2 separate regions of the Homo sapiens genome follow, and region 1 is linked to region 2. Evidence: promoter capture Hi-C in 16 types of primary human blood cells and fetal thymus (Javierre and others, 2016). All regions are on one chromosome and are shown on one strand. The core of a region is centred on a gene start or on the middle of the fragment in contact, and the rest is flanking DNA. Distances in the headings are between cores, read along the strand shown. Region 1 holds the start of MRPS22 (mitochondrial ribosomal protein S22). Region 2 holds the start of NPHP3-AS1 (NPHP3 antisense RNA 1).

Region 1 (3,381 bases), core at 586-3,085, 6.6 Mb after region 2:
TTTGCTGTGCACGTAGATGTACTAGGCTAGGTGATATTGCAATAAAATATGTAGAGTCACTGTGTTCATGGGGTGAGAAAAAGAAATAAGCAGATAAAGAGCAAAATAACAGATTATAAAATGGGCTATAAAGGAAAGGAATAAGTGTTGAGACAGAGAATCAGGTGTATGAATTGGCAGTGGCAGTGGTGGTGGTGGTAATCAGGGCTTGGAGTCAGGAGTTAGATTTAGGGTGCATGTGAGCAGTGTGGATGGAGAAATTTAAGAAGTAGTTGGATTTAAACCTGAGGATGGGGGAGAAGGTTTGGGCAGGAAGTGGAATACATAAATTATGTATTTATTTGAGACAAGAGTCTCACTCTGTCACCCAGGCTAGAGTGTTTGTTTGTTTGTTTATTTGAGATGGAGTCTTGCTTTGTTGCTCAGGCTGGAGTGCAATGGCACGATCTTGGCTCAATGCAACCTTTGCCTCCTCGGTTCAAGCGATTCTCCTGGTACAGGCGCCCGCCACCATGCTTGGCTAATTTTTATATTTTTAGTAGAGACGGGGGTTTCACCATGTTGGCCAGGCTAATCTCGAACTCCTGACCTCAGGTGATCCGCCCGCCTTGGCCTCCCAGACTGCTGGGATTACAGGCGTGAGCCACGGCGCCTGGCCGGAAATTTGTTATTTAGAACGATGGAAACGGGTAGGAAAAAGAGCATATAGGGAAAAAGGTGTAAGTTTTAACTTTATGCATAGGGAAGGACATAAACACCGTCTACTTGTGAATAAGTAGTTTAGAAGAAACAATCTATAAGGGCCCGGAAGACTTCCGGCCCTTTCCGCCTTTAACTAGACTACATTTCCCAGAGTGCTGCAAGAACTGGGTGTGACTCGGAATCCCTCCCAACCACTTCCGGCGCAAGTGGCTTCTGATAATCATGGCGCCCCTCGGAACAACTGTATTGCTGTGGAGCCTCTTGAGGAGTTCTCCGGGCGTGGAACGGGTCTGTTTCCGGGCTCGAATCCAGCCCTGGCACGGTGGCCTGCTCCAACCGCTACCTTGCTCTTTCGAGATGGGGCTGCCACGCCGCCGGTTCAGCTCCGAGGCCGGTAAGTGACCTTCCGGACTTTCGCTGGGGCGTTCTTCTGGGAGACGTAGATCCTGTTTCTGGCAGGCGAAAACCACGCGATAGCCCCCGCGACACGTATCCTAGCGCTTCCTCAGATTCAGCTGTCTTCCTTCTGTACCTGTAGAGTTTGTCATCACCTGCATATCTGTTCATTCGTTCACTCACTCAACTACAGTGCCTGAGTTCCGCTCCGTGCAGAGCACTGTGCTAAGCTCTGTGGGATATGGCAAACTAAGACTGACACAGACATTTCCCTGTGGGAACTCATGTCCATGGGGAATTGGCAGTGCAGTGTGACCCGGGTTGTTATAGGGGACGCACACAGGAGAGGCACTCAAACTAGGTTGGAAGGTCAGGGAAGGGTTCCTGGCAAATATGACCAAAGCTGAGATCTGGTTAGCCATGCTAAGGAGAAAGCAAGAAGCTTCTCAAGCATAGGGGACAGTAGCAGATGTCCAGAAATGAGACTGAGCACAGATATTTGGGAACCCATTTTGGAGGTAGGATTGATAAGGCTTGATTAAGGCTTTGGATATGAGTTTAAAGGGACAAATTAAGATTGTTTCTTAAGTTTTTGATTGGAATAGAGGGTTGTCCCATTTACACCAAGATGAAGAAGATTAATTAATTGTTGGAACCGTTATTTTGGGGGCGGGGGTAGTGCAGGAGTAGATGAGATCAGGAGATGGGAAAGGAGGCGGAATTAAACCTATTTGGGACACATTAAATTTGAGGTGACTTTAAGAGTCAACTGTTTAGTATGGAGTTAAATATAAAGTGAGGAACATCGGAGTAAAAATGGTAACTAAAGGTGAGTGAATGGGTGAGACTGAGGAGAGAGTAGTGCTGAGCACTTGCTGTGTGCTGGATACCCTGAGGAACCCTGGGTGCCAGAGATGAGTATAAGACAAGGTCTGGTCTTCATAGAGCACATCACTTAGTGAGAGACATAGTGTAGGTAAGCAGACCACCTTAACTTTTTTTCTAAATGAGGTTGGAAGCCATTCGTGAATTTTAAGCTTGGGAGTAATCTTGATTACATTTTAAAGAGATTACTCTGGTTGCTCTGTGGAGAATGATCTGTAGTGGGGCCAGAATGGAGAAAGGGAGGCTGATGCAAGAGATGAGGATAGCCTTGACTAGAGTAGTGGCAGTGGGAAATGGAGGATTAAAATGAGATTTATGAAGGCAAACAATCAGTATGTTCTCTGCCAGTGGTGTTTTTTTTTTTGTTTTTTTTTTTTTTTTGTAAAATTGGGATAATCTTCGTGTTTACCTCATGGGTTGTTGTGAGTATTAAATGGGCTGAATGTGTAAAGTACTTAGCTCAGTCAGTATTGGCATGTAGTAAATAGCTAATAAATGGTAGCTCTTATAATTACTGTTATTATTACTACAGCTATTTGATTACTGTTGTTGTTATTACTACTGCTATTGGCTAGATCTGGAGGATCAGGGAGAATTTAGGAATGGCTGTAAGATTTCTGGCCTGTATGGCCTACTGGATGATGCTGAGATAGGGAACAGAAAATGCAGGTTTGAGACAAGGGAAAGTTGATGGGTTCTGACTTGGCAGTATTCAAGTACATGAGAGAGGTTGAGTAATTGGATGGAAGGTGATCTTGGCAGGAGATTCAGATTTTAGAGTTTCTGGCATATAAAGGTAATTGAAGTCGTGGCAGGATAGGAGAAATCATCGAGTAAGAATCTGAGAAGGGAGAAAAGGACATCGTTCAGAATCTGTAGGGATACCAACATTTATAGGAGAAGAAGAGGTGACTAGGAACAAATGGCTTTTTCTTTCTTTTTTGCTAATGGAAATGGAAGTAGAAGTTAGGCAAAGCAATAAGCAAACTGCATGAGGCTGAGCTAAGATTTGATTCTCTGCTTATGTCAAAGGCTCTTCCATGATAACACACGGCCTCTTCAGTATCATGTCCAGTGAACCAAGCCTCTTTCCTAGCTGCAATCTCTTAGCCTAGACTTTCCCTCCCTTTTTTCTCTGCCGTGATGAGGCTCTTGGGACGCTTTCTTTGACCCTGTCATGCCCATCCCTAGTCCAGGCTATGCTTAGTTTCTTCCTCTGCAATCACCCAAGCCCCGTACCTCTCCTGTATACCATACCTCTCACATTATGTCTCCCCACACCTCCCACTTATACCGAGGAGCGCTATGATAAATTGGAAACCATCTAGGATCCAGAACCAGACAAACCTTGGTTTAAATTTTGACTCTATCACTTAATAGCTAGTTGTCTTTGGATAG
Region 2 (2,992 bases), core at 493-2,992:
AAAAACCGCAACCATGCTTGAACTACCACAAATAAAGACCAACATTAAGCTTTCAATGGAAATTAACTTTTTTTGAAACACTGCATCAGCTCTTAAACTTCCTTATGCCTTTTCCATCTTTGTGATAGTAAAAATTACATTTTGTAAGGCTTAACTTGAAGGATAAGTAGTTCTAAGAGACTGTGTGCCTGTTGGCACTATGTCTTATTCATCTCACCATCCCTTGAGCACTTCACAGTGCCTGGTACACTGCAAGTCTCCAGTAAATGTCTGACACAATGAATGAAATAAATATGGATAAGTTTTTTCATGCCTCGATATGTGAGAAAGGAACCAGTATGTTTCACAGGGAATCAGGATTGGTGACATGAGTGACTGTGACACTTGCCAACCCTTATTGCACTCCGCCCTGTTTGGTTTGGCCTTTTCTACCCCCACCTCACAGTTGTTTCCAACGTGCGGTGTCTGTTGGGCAGTGGCTTGGATACATTGAATCAGATATTTGAAATGCACTAGTCCATTTTATACATGCAAGTGCATTAAGGTTGCCCAGTAGGAAAACTGATAAGACAACAGATAAACTGCTACACGGACTTCTTCCCAGACAACGACAATAATTACACAACAGCTAATGAGGGAGTTTAAAAACAAAAACAACAACAACAACAACAACAAAACCTGACTAGAAGAATGTCTAGTCTTGAAGACAGGAGGCTTTTTTTCTTTTAGAAAAATCAGTCTGAGGTATTTATTTCACCCCGACTGTAACGACTCCGGGAACTCTTAGGCTGCCTATAAGTCTCTCCCACAGTAAAGAGTACACAAACGACACAACAACGACCAGAGGGGCCCCAAACTGAGGGCAAAAAGTTTTAGAGATTCGTTCACAGAAAAGCAACCTCTTGCTTTATACTATTTTTTTTTTTTTGATACGGAGTCTCGCTCTGTCACCCAAGCTGGAGTGCAATGGTGCAATCTCGGCTCACTGCAACCTCCGCCTCCCGGGTTCAAGCAATTCTCTTGCCTCAGCCTCCTGAGTAGCTGGGATTACAGGCGCGTGCCACCATGCCCGGCTAATTTTTGTATTTTTAGTAGAGACGGGGTTTCACCATGTTGGCCAGGCTGATCTCGAACTCCTGACCTCAGGTGATCCGTCCGCCTAGGCCTCGAAAAGTGTTGGGATTACAGGCGTGAGCCACCACGCCCGGCTGCTTTACATACTATTTTATTGAATTATAATGGACCTGCTACATGGAGGGCATGCAATAATTGCTTTTAGCGTAAATTAATCAAATGGACTAGGGAAATTTGACTACATCTAGAGAAGGTTTTCAACCATGGTGAGATCAGGAGGCTTCCAGAAATTTTCATGTCAAGACCATTAAAATGCAAGAGCGATGAAACTTTACAAAGAAACCGACACTTGAGCCCCACTTTGGAGACCCACTTAAAATTTTTATGGTGGGGAGGGGGGTGAAACTCCTAGGAAGAGTTTGCTGAGTTGCTTCAACAGATGTCACCAGCCTTCTGAGGGGGTGGGCGCGGGGGCGGCAGTGGAGCTGGAGATTGGCATTTGCCTCCTCAGGACACTTTCCGGCTAATTTCTTCTAGGTGCCTCAATGAATAAACCAGAAATAGAAAAGCGGGGACCAGGCGCGGTGGCTCACTCCTGTAATCCCAGAACTTTAGGAGGCCGAGGCGGGAGGATCATTGAGCCCAGGAGTTCCAGGTTGCAGTGAGCCGCGATCGTGCCACCGCAGCGAGACCCTGTCTCCAAAAAAAGAGACAGAAAAAGGGGAGGGTTAAGGAATCATTTCAGACTCGAAGAGAATATGGCCTCTCAAATTAAAATGGGCAGTTTCCGCCGAACTTTCAAAGCCGCTTGGTTTGGAGAGGGAGCAGGACGGCCGTGCTTCCCAAGGGTCTCCCGGCGTCGCGGCCCAGCCCGGCGTTACCTGCAGTTCGGCCCGCAGCCGCTTGTTCTCCGTGTCCAGCTTGGCCTCGCGGCGGCCCATGGACAACAACTCCTGGTTCTTGCTGACGCGAAAGATCTCGTACTCCTTCCTGAGCCGCTCGTACTCGGCCGCCGCGTACTCCAGCTCTGGCACCGACGAGCCAGTGGACTTGAAGCTGGCCCCCAGCAGCCCGCCCGCGCCCACCCCGCGGGGCAGCGACCCGGGCCCGGCCCCTGCTGCCGCCCCCGCGCCTCGGCGGAACGAGTTGCGCAGCAGGCGGGCCTTGGGCTTCACCTCCACCGGGATCTCGCAGGCCTCGCCGCCGCCCGCCCCGTACGTGTCCTCGATCACTTCCCCGCCCGCGGGGCTCACGAGCGACGAGGCGGTCCCCATGGCGTCCGTTGCCGCTACTACCTAGTGAGTACCAGCAGGACTGGGCAGCGGAACGGAACGGGACGGGGTGGGGCAGAGGAACGGAACGGGACGGGGCGGGGCAGAGGAACGGAACGGGACGGGGCGGGCCAGCGGGATGGAGCGGGGCCGGAGAGCAGGACTGGGCGGAGCAGCGGGACGGGGCGGAGCAGCGGAACGGGGCGAGGCGGGGGAGCGGGATGGGGCGGGGAAACAGGAGGGGCGGGGCAGCAGAACTGGGCGGGGCGGGGGTGCAGGACGGGGCGGGGGAGCAGGACGGGGCGGGGCAGCGGAACGGGGCGGGGCGGGGCCGGAGAGCCGGACGAGGCGAGGCAGCGGAACGGGGCGGGGAGGGAGAGCGGAAGGGGGTGGGGCAACTGGAGGGGCGGGGCAGCGGAACGGGACGGGGCAGCGGAACTGGGGGGATGGGCGAGGGGGACGGGGCGGGGCAGCAGGGCTAGGCGGGACAACAAGAGGGGCCGGGCAAGTGGGGCGGGGCATGTGGGCGGGGCAGGGCAAACGGGGGTGGGTCGAGAAAGCACACAGGGCCAGGCGGGCTAGCAAGAAGGGCGGGGCTAGCAGGAAGGATGGGGGGAGTGGCGACTGTGCAGGACCAGCAGTGGACC

Evidence for each region. Contacts are between HindIII fragments. The CHiCAGO score rates a contact against its expected background, and 5 or more counts as called.
Region 1: a contact is called between a fragment that was not itself captured here and the fragment with the promoter of NPHP3-AS1 in region 2, in 1 of 17 cell types (total CD4 T cells). The highest score is 5.4, in total CD4 T cells.

Annotation. Positions count from the first base shown.
Region 1 is chr3:139,343,103-139,346,483 of GRCh38, forward strand. MRPS22 (mitochondrial ribosomal protein S22) reads left to right here and starts at 918. Exons shown (of 8, transcript NM_020191.4): 1 at 918-1,096. The coding sequence starts at 925. RefSeq lists enhancers at 976-1,065, 1,025-1,319, 1,296-1,395, 1,406-1,525. The HindIII fragment of the contact is 595 bases long and covers 1,539-2,133 here.
Region 2 is chr3:132,720,008-132,722,999 of GRCh38, forward strand. NPHP3-AS1 (NPHP3 antisense RNA 1) reads left to right here and starts at 1,743. Exons shown (of 11, transcript NR_002811.2): 1 at 1,743-2,372. It overlaps NPHP3 (nephrocystin 3), which reads right to left and starts at 2,402. Exons shown (of 27, transcript NM_153240.5): 1 at 1,956-2,402. The coding sequence starts at 2,348. NPHP3-ACAD11 (NPHP3-ACAD11 readthrough (NMD candidate)) reads right to left here and starts at 2,452. Exons shown (of 45, transcript NR_037804.1): 1 at 1,956-2,452. RefSeq lists silencers at 2,059-2,308, 2,409-2,918. The HindIII fragment of the contact is 4,122 bases long and covers 48-2,992 here.